Linked DNA regions of Homo sapiens: region 1 is linked to region 2. Evidence: promoter capture Hi-C in human tissues and cell types (Jung and others, 2019). All regions are on one chromosome and are shown on one strand. Each heading gives the region's core, a stretch centred on a gene start or on the middle of the fragment in contact. The rest is flanking DNA. Distances are from core to core; before and after follow the strand shown.

What was found. The method cuts DNA at HindIII sites, captures the fragments that hold promoters and counts their contacts. A contact is called where the count stands out against the background at its distance.
Region 1: a contact is called between a fragment that was not itself captured here and the fragment with the promoter of SYDE1 in region 2, in 1 of the 25 tissues and cell types used here (H1 embryonic stem cells).

Annotation. Positions count from the first base shown.
Region 1 is chr19:16,123,351-16,129,824 of GRCh38, reverse strand. RAB8A (RAB8A, member RAS oncogene family) reads right to left here. Exons shown (of 8, transcript NM_005370.5): 4 at 4,278-4,355; 5 at 2,299-2,388; 6 at 1,734-1,799; 7 at 221-271. HSH2D-AS1 (HSH2D and RAB8A antisense RNA 1) reads left to right here. Exons shown (of 2, transcript NR_199156.1): 2 at 2,838-6,474. Among named protein-coding and RNA genes, the nearest start is that of HSH2D-AS1, 13 kb to the left of the region's middle. The HindIII fragment of the contact is 7,709 bases long and covers 331-6,474 here.
Region 2 is chr19:15,101,577-15,108,845 of GRCh38, reverse strand. It overlaps SYDE1 (synapse defective Rho GTPase activating protein 1), which reads right to left and starts at 1,445. Exons shown (of 8, transcript NM_033025.6): 1 at 1,325-1,445. The coding sequence starts at 1,412. The HindIII fragment of the contact is 3,798 bases long and covers 1-2,699 here.

The DNA of each region.
Region 1 (6,474 bases), core at 2,936-5,435, 1.0 Mb before region 2:
GGCACGGCCTTGTCTGCTTGGGCAGCGTCCCCAGGCTGGCACTGCCTGATGCTGATGCCCCAGCCACACCTGCAAACTCTTCCCCCTTTCCCAGCAATGTCCCATGGGGTCTGGCTGGGCCCTAAAAAGCAGGATCTAGGGCACGTCATATCACTGCTGCTAACGACGATGGCTGGATCCCAGAGATCCACCCGGGGATCTCGGAAGGACACACACTCACCAATTTTTTGTCCATTTTTGCTTTGATATCTCTGGCGAGAGTGAAAAATGCCTGTGGAATAAGCACATTGTGAGTCCTTGGGATGGCAGGACCCTGAGTCCTCAGCCGCCCGTGTACAGCGGGTGTGGTGAGACAGCTTCCCAGGCGTGGGCCTCCCATTTGGCCCTTTGATGCCCGCCTCTGGCAGTGGGTTCATCTGGCCTGTCCGGCCCCAGCTCATCCTTCCCCGGCTCCCTCTGCCTCCCACCCACCCTTACTCTCTGACATCAACTCTCACTTCCGCAGAGCACCTTAGCATTGACGGGACTTTACGCATGTGCCACCTCCCCTAAGCCCTGTGAGATGGGGCGACACTCAGTTGGCCAGAGAGGAAACTGAGGCTCAGAGAGGCCAAGTGACTTGTCCAAAGGAACCCAGCAGTTAACCGACCAATCCAGAAGGATCTAGGAGTGCCCAGTTCTTTGTCTCTGACTCCTAGGTTCTGTCAGCTCTGGCCTCCCTTCTGATGGTCAGGGAAAAAGGCAAGCAGCTCTGTGGCCAAACAAGCTTCACTCGGAGTCCTTGCCTGGCAGGGCTGGGAGCGGGAGCAGGTTCATCTCCCAGCACAGCCAAGGGTTGAGCTGCTGTCACAGCCTTGAGGAGGGGACATACAGAGATGGCGGGAGGCGTGATCCCAACATACATCCCCATGATGTGGGAGGTTCTGGAGAGGAGAGTGGCTTGGGGTGCGGAGGAAGGCCCAGGGGAGACTGAAGGTGTTCTTGGGGAGAGGCCCCCAGGGCCAGGCCCTGACTAGAAAAGGGAACCTGGCAGGCAGAAAAAGGGGCACACAGGAGGGAAATGCAGTGACGTATTGGAGAAGGGAGCAGCCCAGGTGGCCTGGGGAGGGCAAGGCCTGAGCCCTGGGTGGCAAACACCAGCTGTAGCCGGTGAGGGAGGGCCTTCCACGCCAGGCAAGGAGTCTAGCCTTTGTCTTCACGTCAGCATAGAGACTTTAGGTCGGGAGTGATATGGAAGATCCGCCTTGGAAACATGACTAGGATGGGGAAACATCACAGGATCGGCCGCAGGGCTGGGGTCGCCCCGTGGAGAGGGGAGGGTGGCATGGGCCCAGGTCCCATCAGGGCTCCCTGCTATGTCTGGGCTTTTTTGACAGGGGCCTCTCCAGGGTGAGTGGTGTGGCTGAGAGGGTAAACACAGAGCTGGGTCTTTCTGAGCCTTAGTTTCCTCACCTGTAAAACCGTGCCTATTCCCCAGGGCTGCCCAAGAGCCCGTGAGATGCGTCCTAGGTGCCCTTTGTGGTGCCTGTCCCTGCTGATGGCACATTCCCAGGGGCTGCCTGTGCTTGGCACGTGGCACTGCCCAGGAAATGTCCCTCAGAGGACTGACTGGCAGCCCTGAGCCCGAGGCTGGTCCGTCTGGCAGGACCTCCTCGGAGGACGCCAGCTCCCCCTTTAGCCTGAAGGGGCCGATCCTGCAGGCCCCATGTCTCCCAGCAGGGCCCGGGACTCACATTTTCCACATTGATGTTGGCCTTCGCGCTGGTCTCCATGAACTTGATTCCATAGTCGAGGGCCAGCTGTGAGAGAGGGAGGCACACGCATGAGCACACCAGCCGCCGGGCGCATCTGAGCTTGCCTAAAACAGGAGCTGAAGGCAGGGCCGGCGCCAAGAGGGAGCAGCAACAGGGCTGGGGCTGTGGGCGTGACTTCCTGGATCACTCCCTCAATTCTATAGTGAATGCCCCTCCACAGGGCCTCACAGGGCATGGAGTTGCTGGGGATGGCAGCTGAGATGGGAGGGTGGCGGGGACCTGCTGGGATCAAACTATGGCTCTGTTCCCCGCTCCTGTGGTCTTGAAAGTCTGGAGCGGGGCCATGGTAGGTTTTGATGAGATGCCCGCAGAGTGCACCCAAGAAGCCCCGGCTGGGTGTGTGCTTCTGTCATCCCATGGCACGTGCCCCACTGGGGTGACCAACTCGTCTCAGGCCCCTGGGGCAGAGGAGGGACAGGGGAAGGCCTCTGCACAAGAACCCCAAGACCCCGAGGCCCTCTGCCCCTTGTGCCACCATGCCCACCTTTTCTCCCCGTTCCTTGGAAACTTGTCTCTTGTCATTCACATCACACTTGTTCCCGAGTATCATCTTTTCGACGTCTGCAGAGGCGTGCTGAGAGGGAGGGGGACAGACGGGGGATCAGACCGGATGACACAGGCCAGGTGCCTCTGCCAACACACAGTCTGTCCCCAGAAATCAGAGCGGTGGGGTCAGGACTGCTAGGTACAGCCTGGTCTAAGGGACAAGCTGAAGCTCAGAGAGGCCAAGCAGCCGGCCCCATGTCACACAGCCAATGCCAGGGCTGGGGCCAGGGTTCTAGCTGCTACTCTGAGCAAATGCACATTTTCTGAAATGCTTTCTGGCAGCTTCTATGGCTGTATCAATCAAGCCCCCGCACCTGGGATGCTGGGCGGGTCTAGCCTATGGGAGGTGAGTGAGGCTGAGATATTTACCCCCCGACCTTGGCTTTCCTCCTTCCCTCCCTGGCTCCTCTGCAAGAGGCCCCAGCTGTTGTCCTGGGACCTTCTGCTTTGACACTTTTTTTTTTGTTTTTTTTTGAGATGGAGTCTCGTTCTGTCTCCCAGGCTGGAGTGTAGTGGCATGATCTCGGCTCACTGCAACCTCTGCCTTCAGGTTCAAGCGATCCTCAACCTCCCGAATAGCTGAGATTACAGGCATCTGCCACCATACCAGGCTAATTTTTTGTATTTTTAGTAGAGACAGAGTTTCGCCATGTTGGCTAGGCTGGTCTCAAACTTCTGACCTCAGGTGATCTGCCCGCCTCAGCCTCCCAAACTGCTGGGATTACAGGCATAAGCCACCTCGCCTGGCCCTGACATTTCAACTATTTTTGGGCTCCAGAAACAGGCCGTGCCTGAGGTGGTCGCAACTCGAGGCCGTCACCAGCTGCAGGCACTTCACCACCCTGTCTGATGTTGCCCAAACTCTGCCCTCATACCCAAAGGCAGCTCCTTCGTCAAGTCTCCCTGGGTCCCCATGGAGCGGACCACGCTTCCTGGAGGACGGGGACACTGGAAACTGCTGTCTTCTTCCACCAGCTCAGACTTGGTCTCTGGAACCTACTGCGCCACTCCCTGCCTCACTTCCCATGAACCAGAAGGTGGCTCCTGCCCGCTGGCCAGAAACAGAGACCTTTCACAAAGACCAGGCTCTCCTCCTCTCCACGGATGAAGACAGCTTTCCCAGCTGGGGTGCAGCCCTGCACTGGCAAATTTGGCAGCACAGCCCTCTCAGGGTCACTGGGGAGGTGAGCCCAGTGCAATGACTCACAAATGATGGGGTGGCCTCTCGGCCTGGCCTGGGAGGTCCATGAGTCCTGGGTGGACAGTGATATGCCCTTTTGCTGTGGTTTTATAGATGGGAAAAGTTCTCTGGCTGTGCCTCAGACCTGAAGCCCCACATGGTTAGTTATAGAAAGCTGCAGGTGCCGGCAGCCAGGAAGGCTTTGGGGGTGAGGTCAGCTCTTTGGGGAGCAGAAGATGAAGATGCTGGCTTTGGGAGGGGAGGAGGGGTTGGCCTACTTCTCACTGCTCTATGGTTCAAGGTCTGAACACAGGTCGTTTGTACCAGGTCACACCCTGCTCCGATATAGCTCAAAGTACAACTGACGCCTGCTCACCACACCCTCCAACTACAAGGGTCACACCTGTGCTAGACCCTTCCTTCTCTAGAAAGCACCCAACACTCATGGTGACCACAAGCTTGGATATCCTTTCTCTTATAACCATGACACTGGCCAGATCCAACAGCCTAGCTGGAGGGATGGGCTCCGAGGGGCTCCGGGGTGGGGCCAGGCCAGTGTGTGGTCCCTGGGGCCGGCTGCTTGCATCTCAGTCCCTGCTCCCACCATGTCCCTGACTAGGAGGCTGTGGGCAAGTGGCCTGTATGTGTCTCTGCACCTTGGCCTTCTCATGAGTAAACCAGAGGGCTCTGGGACAAGGACTGAAGCAGGGACAGTGGGAGGAGCCGGAGGGCCTCACCTCCTCAATGTTGCGAATCCAGTTCCGGATGTTGTCGAAGGACTTCTCGTTGGTGATGTCGTAGACCAGCATGATGCCCTGCGCGGGGAGAGAAGACACAGGTGCCTGATCGGCTGCAGGCTCTGGAAGGGAGGCCTCAGCGGCACCAGAGAACAGTGGTGGGGAGCCCAGCACCCACTGCACAGCCAGGCCCATTAGCTGCCGCCCTCCCCACCTCTGTGGAGCCCCGGAAGCCAGCCCCCTCCTCTCCATCCCTGTGGCCCTTCTTTCTGCTGGGTTCTGGCACCAGCCTTGTCCTGCCCCCCGGGCCGCTGAGGTGACCCTTCTGCCTCACAGGCCAGCCCCTGCCACGCACTCGCTGACAAGCCCGGCTGGCTCCCCTCATGGCCCACGGGGTGGTGCAGCCTGACGGTGGGAGCCGGTCCACAGGCCCACTGCCAGCAGCACTCCCCTCACGCTGACCCTCCCCTGCAATCGGCCTCCTCTTCACCCCTTGCTCACCCCACGCTCTGCCTGAGCCACCTACCAGGCACAACTGAGCCCAGGAAGTCCTGACCCGACATCCACACAACTTCCAGTGACCCCACCACAGAGGGAACCGGCTGTGTGAAGATGGAGCCGAGAGTGCCAAGGCCCTTCCAGTTCCCTAACCTAGACGTGAGCAACTGGGAGACGGCTCGTGGGTCCTGGAAGAGCTTCGGGGCAGCCCCGCCTCAGCCTGGGTCCACAGCCTCGCTACTGCTGTGGACAAGCGCAAACATGCCCATGCGATGCAAGGGGAAACTGAGGCACAGAGACGTGACCTTTAAGATTCAAGCACGGGGGGCGGGGGGGGGCTAACTCCAAAAGCACTGATGACACCTATCCTCTCAGCAATATCCCTGGGCCTTTTTCAGCCCCAGAACCCACATGTGGGGGCCACCCTCTGACGGTCTGTGTGGTTCTCGATGTCCTTGTGGAGTGCCCACAGCGGGCCAGCCTGCAGTGCCATCACAAGTCCCCCTTTGTTGCCGGGCATCCTGGGCTCCAAGGCACGTGGCCTGCTCATGGCCAGGCCTGGATTTCTTCCTTCCTCCTCGCTACCTGCTCCCCAGGCCCAGCCCTGCATCTGTGGCACCTGAGGGCACTGATGACTTCTGCTGCTGGCCAAGTTGTCTGGGGCCATCCAAGTTTGCAGAATAAGGACACGGGCCATGTGGTAATGGTGAGACAGATGTGGGTGCAAGAGTGTGGGACAAAAACGACACAGATGGGGCAAGAAAGTCACTGCAACCCCAAATCCTCCTGGGAATTCAGGGACATGAATAATGGCCTCACAGTCAGCCGCAACCATGGCGAAGAACCTCAAGGCTGCAGTGGCCCATGATGTCTGCCATGCCCCATCCACGGTGGGCACACCCTGTGACTGTGACATGGTCAGGGACAGGGGGCGTGGGGCCCTTTATCCGGGGACTGGACCCTCTGAAAGCCCAGGATTCCTGCCTTCACCACTAAGTTGGTGACATGTGCCTAAGACTCAAATTCCTGGATTATACCTATTTCAGGGAGCTGAGGGGAGAACCTGGACGTTAGTGGGGCAGTGGGTAGAGCTCTCTCTTAGAATCAAGCAGAAGCACCTGGAAAACACTGAGCCAGCCATCCTATTCCAGGTTTTCCTGGAAACACCCCTCAGGGCTCCAAGTGACTATTTTCCAGGGCCCCGTCTGGGCAAACCTCACCATGGGTCTCTAGGCATCCAATGCTTCCCAAACTTGGGATTTTGAGGCCCAAGGGTCTATGAGCATGCTGACAGAGATGAGGACACAGCTGCAATGGTGGTGCTGTCCCATATGACTGATACTGGCTACACAAGGCTCTAGGGCATCAGAAACATAGCTGCTTTGACCCAAGGAGCTGGATTTTCAATGTTTTTTAAAATTAATTAATTAATTAAGTAGTTAAGCGACGGATACTTGCTCTGCTGCCCAGACTGGAGTGCAGTGGTGCAACCTCGGCTCACCGCAACCTCCGGCTCCCAGGTTTAAGCGATTCTCCTGCCTCACCCTCCTGAGTAGCTGGGATTACAGGCATCCGCCACCACGCCCAGCTAATTTTTGTATTTTTAGTAGAGATGGAATTTTACCATGTGGCCAGGCTGGTCTCCAACTCCTGACCTCAAGAGATCTACCCACCTCGGCCTCCCAAAGTGCTGGGATTA
Region 2 (7,269 bases), core at 196-2,695:
TGGCATCCCAAAAGGGGACTCCATCCCTGCAGCCTCAGGGTTCTAAGTCAGGCTTCCTGGGGCCCGTAGGTACTGCGTTCCAGTCTCCACTTCCTCTACCCTCTCAATAACCGTGGCATGGAGCTTTGCACCTGCGTGGCCTTGGGCAAGTCGCTTCCCTCTCTGAGGCTCAGTATCCTCCTGTGAAATGGGGGGATGTGATTTCCATGTCCAGGGAGGCTTCCAGGAGCCTTTTGGAAAAGTATACAGCCCACAGCAGGCACTACGTGCTCAGGAGTGAGGAGCTGGGTTTTCTATTCCCTGCAGCACAGTCACTCCCAGTCCCCTGCCCCTTTTACCCTCCCTCCTGTCTTCCAAACTCTGTCGCCATCCTGGGATGGGCCCTTGTCCCTCAGCCCAGGCCAGACCCCCCACGCTCAATGCTTTGGGACTTCCCCTTCCCTCCCTCCTCTCCTGTCTCATGTCCTGGGCTGTTTCCTGTGTGTGTTTGTGTTTGGGCATCTCTGTCCCTTCTCCCTTCCCTGGGAACATTGGGAATCTTTGGGAAGGCCTGGGGGGAAGGGGTACGTCCATGGAATGGTCTGGCCTTCCTCCTTTAACTCCTTCCTTCCTGGGTCCCCCTATCCCACGCAGCTGTTTCTCTAAGGTTTTTACTTGCTACCCTGCTGAACTCCTCCTCTGGCCACCTCTGATGTCCACCCTCTAGGGTCTCTGTTTGTAGCATAGTCCAAAGAGCTGTTTAAGTCGATGGCCCTGGGCACATGACCCAATTGCTCCGTGCCTCAGTTTCCCCATCTGTATAAAAGGGACAGTTTCCTGGGGCTAAGGCAGGCGCAGTTGCCGTCACTGTTAGTAGGTGGGAGGCGGAGGGGGCAGCTACTCTGATTGACGGGCCGCCCCTCTCTTTCCTTTGCAGGAGTACGCCTCCCATCTCCCATCCTGCGCCTCCAGGGCTCCCGATGCCCCTTGCCCAGCCCGACTGGGCCCCAGTGTCCCGGCCTCCCAGCCCCTCCTCCCCTCCACCCTCCAGGCCCTCAGTCGCGGCCCCATTTCCTGTCGTGGGCGAGGCCCCCTCCCGGGCCTCCCAAGGAGCCCGCAGCGCTGGCATCCCCGGCCAGCAGCACATAACGGTCCGCGCCCCCCTCCCTCCCAGCCCCTTCCTTCCAGGACCCCTACCCTCCCCTGGCTGGAGGCACCCCAGTCTGCAGCGGGGTGCGGGGGGCTCCCCCTGATCCCCCCCACCGTCTGTCCTCGGGGCCCTGGGACCCCGCTCCCAGGCCGGGTGGGGCTCGGCGCCCCCTGTTCCCCACCGATCTCCGCTTACCGCGCTCCTTGGCGTCCGACTTTTTCCGGGGAAGTTTCTCCCGGCCCCGCAGGCGGGAGAAGGTTTTCCTGAGTAGCGGCTCGGCCATGCTGCGGCCCGGGCCGGGCCGAGCCGAGTGCGCGCCCCGGGCTCCGGCCGCGCCGCCCCGCGCCCTCCCCGCCCCGCCCGGGCCTCCCCGCCCGCCCCCCGCCCCGCGCCAGCAGGAAGCACATTCCGGGAATGCTTGGCCCAAACTTTTTTTTTTTTTCCCCTTTCCCGCGGCCCGAGCGGGCGATGCTGGGAGATGTAGTTGCCTGGGGCCGGGAGGGGTTGGAATGGGGGCTCCGGGTGCCCGGATCCGCTCCAGCTTCGATGGGACGTGACGATCGTGGCGCAGGCCCGATCCCTTGTCTTCCACCTCACCCACCCTCCCTGGATGGGACTCTGGGTGATGGCATCCAGGAAGTTCTCTTGGGTCTGTCTCCAAATCGCAGCCTCCACGTATCCTCTCTCTCCTTGCCAGGTACTGCTTCAACCTGGTGCAAGCCGTAGTGTCATTCGTTTCAATGACCGTCCCCACTACCCACCCCACCCCAAGCTTCTTCCTTGGTCTCCCCATGCCACTCTTTCCCCACTCAATTCTCTCACCTCCAAATTCCAATTACTACTGCTGTTTGACAAACCATCCCCAAACGTAATGATGTAAAACAACCATGTCGTGATTGTGAAAGGAAAATAAATCTTGAGACCTCCAAATCACTGAGCCAAAAGGAAGAAGTCAAACTGGTAACTGTGTAGGACAAACCTGCCTCCCATTCTATTCCTAAGTAAGATAGCTACAAGGTTAAAAAAGCTAGCTGGGCGCGGTGGCTCACTCCTGTAATCCTAGCACTTTGGGAGGCTGAGGCGACGGATCACTTGAGGTCAGGAGTTCGAAACCAGGCTGGCCAACATGGTGAAACTCCATCTCTACTAAAAATATGAAAAAGAAAAAAAATTGGCCAGGCATGGTGGGTGGGCACTGGTAATCCCAGCTATTTGGGAGGCTGAGGCAGGAAAATTGCTTGAACACGGGAGGTGGAGGTTGCAGTGAATCAAAATTGCACCACTGCACTCTAGCCTGGTCATCAGAGCAAGATGCCGTCTAAAAAAAAAGAAGAAAAGAAAAGAAAAAAAAAGCTACATACCTCCCCCACAATTTGCCTACAAGGAAATTCCTTATGGATGAAGGACAGGCAGAACTCAAAATTGTCCCTCTGCTCACATGAGACAAACACATATCTGATCGCTTCCTTACCTATTTGTTTCACTAAGCCAGACTAAGGCATAAGTGACTATCTCTGTAAATTGCATATTCAGAAAGGCTAGTCAGAAACTCGAAAGAATGCAATTGTTTCTCTCTTATCCACCTATAACCTGGAAGCCTTCTCCCTACTTTTGAGTTGTCCTGCCTTCCCAGACCAAACCCATGTGCATCTTACATATATTGATTGCTGTCTCATGTCTCCCTAAAATATATAAAACTAGACCAAGGTGGAGTGCAGTGGTACCACCACAGCTCACTGCAGTCTCAGCCTCTTGGGCTCAAGTGATGCTCCTGCCTCAGCCTCCCGAGCAAGTGGGACTATAGGCATGTGTCACCATACCTGGCTAATTTCCCTACTTTTTGTAGAGATAGAGTCTCATCATGTTGCCCAGACTGGTCTCAAACTCCTGGGCTCGGCTGGGTGCGGTGGCTCACGCCTCTAATCCCAGCACTGTGGGAGGCCAAGGCGGGCGGATCACCTGAGGTTGGGAGTTCGAGACCAGCCTGACCAACATGGGGAAACCCCTTCTCTACTAAAAACACAAAATTAGCTGGGGGTGGTGGTGCATGCCTATAATCCCAGCTACTCGGGAGGCTGAGGCAGGAGAATCTCTTGAACCCGGGAGGCGGAGGTTGCAGGGAGCCAATATTGTGTCACTGCATTCCAGCCTGGGCAACAAGAGTGAAACTCCGTCTCAAAAAAACAAAACAAAAAAACAAAACAAAACAAAAAACCCTCCTGGTCTCAAGTGATCTGCCCGCCTTGGCCTACCAAGTAGCTAGGATTACAGACCTGAATCAAGGTAGTGGCCCTGACTACCCTAGTTTATGTTGTCAGGAGCTTCTAAGTCTGTGTCACAGGCATGTCCATAACCTTGGCAAAATAAGCTTTCTAAATTTATTGAGACTTATCTGAGATACCTTTTGGTTTACATGATGCTCACAGATGCTGTGGTTCAGTTTGGACAGGGGAGACTTAGGCTAGAGGGTGACTAAAAAATGGCAGGGTCCTGAGTCATCTGGAGGTGTCTTCACTCAGAGGTCTTGCAACTGACGCCAGCTGTTGCTGGGGCTGTGGACCAGGGTAGCTACACAGGCCTCTCCGTGTGGTTCGGGTTTCCTTCCAGCATGGTGGTCTTGGGGTAGTCAGACTTCTTAGACAGCCACCCAGCCCTCTAAAAGTGAACAAGGAAGAAGTTGCATCTCTTCTGACCCAGCCTTGAGTGTCATGCTGTGTCACTTCTGCCACCAGATTCAAGGAAAGGGGGCACAGATTATACCTCTCTACATGGGAGGCATGTCAAGGTGACATTGTACAAGTGGATGTAGGGTGGGAGATATTGTGGCCATCTGGGAAAATATAACCTGTCTTAGCCCTACATTTCATTCTCCATATATTACCCACAGTGGACTTAAAACTGAAATCAGATTGTGGCACCATCCTGCTGAATAGTGTTCCTATGACTGCTCACCTCACCTAGAATAAAATTCAGATTCCCAGCATGGTCTCACAAGACTTCCAGCCTCATCTCTTTGGCTGTCCCATTCACTCACCATGGCCTCCTTTCTGGTTCTCCTTCATATCAAGCTATTTCTGCCTCAGGTCCTTTGCACACATGGTTCCTTCTGCCTGGGAAGCCCTGGTTCTTCTGAGGCCACCTCTCTCTCATCCTTTAGGTCCAATGGCACCTTCTAGGGAGACCCTTTCTGTCCACCACCTCTGTCTAGTCAGTATCACATTACTCAGTTTCCTTTCTTCTAACACTTGCCACAACTTGAATTTAACAGTCCCAGTGGTTTGTTCTAGTTTATCTGCCTCCTCGTCCAGACTGGGTCTCCACCAAGTGATCAAGTGATGCTTGTCTATGTTGTTCACTGCTGAATATTCAGGTAGGAGATCAGGTGTCAGGTGATGGAGGTCTGTATAGGAGGGGGTGTCCAAGAGGCCTGGACGAGGAGGCTGTGTGTGTTTGGTTTTAATGTGTCTTTGTGTGGTTCTCTGTGTTTATTGTACTTGGAGTTTGTTGAGCTTTGTGGATATGTAGATTCATGTCTTTCATCAATTCTGGGCTTCTGGGAAGTTTTTTGGCCATTATTTCATCAAATATTATTATTATTATTTTTTGAGATGGAGTCTCACTCTGTTGCCCAGGCTGGAGTGCAGAGGCATGGTCTTGGCTCACTGCAACCTCTGCTTTCTGGGTTCAAGTGATTCTCCTGCCTCAACCTCTCAAGTAGGTGGGGTTACAGGTGCCTGTCACCATGCCCAGCTAATTTTTGTATTTTTAGTAGAGATGGGTTTTCGTCATGTTGGCCAGGCCGGTCTCAAATTTCTGACCTTAAGTGATCTGCCCACCTTGGCCTCCCAAAGTGCTGGGATTATAGGCATGAACCACCATACCCAGCCTCATCAAATATTCTTTCTGCTCCTTTCACTTCTCTCCTTCTGGGACTCTCATTATGCATATATTGGTATACTCATTATACAACTGTTGATATACAGTTCTCCTAGGTGCTGTTCACTTTTCTTGGATATGTGTGTTTGGGGGGCATCAGTCTGTAAAAGGGTGGAGTGCACCCTCCTCCCTATGAGATCCCTGCGCAGATGTCTTTGAGGCAGCTATTGACAATGGGGAAAGAAGTCAGGGGTCAAGACAATACCTGTTTACAAGTTGAGGGTAGAGGCTGCAGGACTAAGGTCCCAATGGGGTATTTCAGAGTCTCAGAGGAGCTGGGGTCTGACATGGGAGTGAGAGCAACCCTTAGCCCCACCCATATGACACCCACATACCACATAAATATTTATTATTATTATTTTGTGTAAATCTTTTTGAGTTTTTGTACTTTTCCTGTTGTCTTTATTTGCCTGCATGTAGCCTATTTAATTCACCATTGGCTCTGATTCTTTCTTAGCAATCAGAAATTTCCATAAGTGAGAACAGATTATCTGCAAATTGTATGTAATGAAATGGTTATGAATTCTAAGTTTCATAATGATGTTTGTATGCTTATTCCTGTGGATTTTGCTAGTTGCTGTACAGATTTTAGAGCCTGTATGCGTACATTTTCTTTTCTTTTCTTTTATAGAGACATAGTCTTGCTTTGTTGCCCAGGCTGGAGTGCAGTGGCACGATCTTGGCTTACTGCAACCTGTGACTCCCTGGTTTAAGCGATGCTGCTGCCTCAGCCTCCTGAGTAGCTGGGATTACAGGCACACACCACCACGTGCAGCTAATTTTTATATTTTTAGTAGAGATGGGGTTTCACCATGTTGGCCAGGATGGTCTCGATTTCCTGACCTTGTGATCCATCCACCTTGGCCTCCCAAAGAGCTGAGATTACAGGGGTCAGCCACCGTGCCTGGCCCATTTTCTTTTCTTTTAAAAAAATTTATTTTCATGGCCGGGCACTGTGGCTCATGCCTGTAATCCCAGCACTTTGGGAGGCTGAGGCGGGTGGATCACGAGGTCAGGAGTTCAAGACTAGCCTGGCCAAGATGGTGAAACCCCGTTTCTACTAAAAATATAAAAATTAGCTAGGCATGGTGGCAGGCACCTGTAATCCCAGCTACTCGGGAGGCTGAGGCAGGGGAATCGCTTGAACCCAGAGGGTAGAGGTTGGAGTGAGCCAAGATCGTGCCACTGCACTCCAGCCTGGGTGACTAAGACTCTGTCTCAAATTTTTTAAAAATTATTTTCATGTTATTTTTATTTACTTTATTATTATTATTTTATTTATTTTTCTTGCTCTGTTGCTCAGGCTGTAGTGCAGTGGCACTACCACAACTCACTGCACCCTCAACCTCCTAGGCTCAAGTGATGTTCCTGCCTCAGCCTCCCAAGCAACTGGAACTACAGGCATGTGCCACCATGCCACAGGCTGATTTTTCTATTTTTTTGTGGAGATAGGGTCTCATCATGTTGCCTAGACTGTTCTCAAACTTCTGGGCTCAAGTGATCTTCCCACTTTGGCCCCCCAAGTGGCTGGGATTACAGGTGTGAGCCACCGTGCTTGGCCTTATTATTTTTAGAGACATAATCTCCCTCTGTCACCCAAGCTGGTGTGCATTGGTGTGATCATAGCTCACTGCAGACTTGAACTTCTGGGTTCAAGCAATCCTCTTGCCTCAGCCTCCTGAGTGGCTAGGCCTATAGGCATGCACTGCCATACCCAGCTAGCTTTTAAATTTTTTTTGTAGAGACAGGATCTTGCTATGTTGCCCAGGCTGGTCTCAAACTCCTGACCTCAAGCGATCCTTCTTCCTTGGCCTCTCAAAGTGCTGGGATTACAGGTGTGAGCCACTGCACCTGGCCACGTGTGTGTTTTCTTTCCCCTAAATGTTCTCATTGGCTGCAGGTCTGATGTGCTGTGCTTTTGGTACCTGGTGGATTAACCAGCCCCAGACACATATAGACCAATTAGTTGAAAGACCAAAAGACCATTTCCTGTCAGTTTTGGGCAGAGCTCAGCACCTCTGTGGTAGTCAAGGGGAATTGATGGATAAATACCCCAGCTCCCTCACCCTTGTGTTGGATGATTGAGGTTCATGTTCTACACTGACCCCTAGTGTTCACCCACGGGATTGAGCTCCAGCTGTCCACTGTAGAAACCTGGTTATCAATACACTCTTTGCTGACTTCCTTCCCTTCCCTCTCCCACA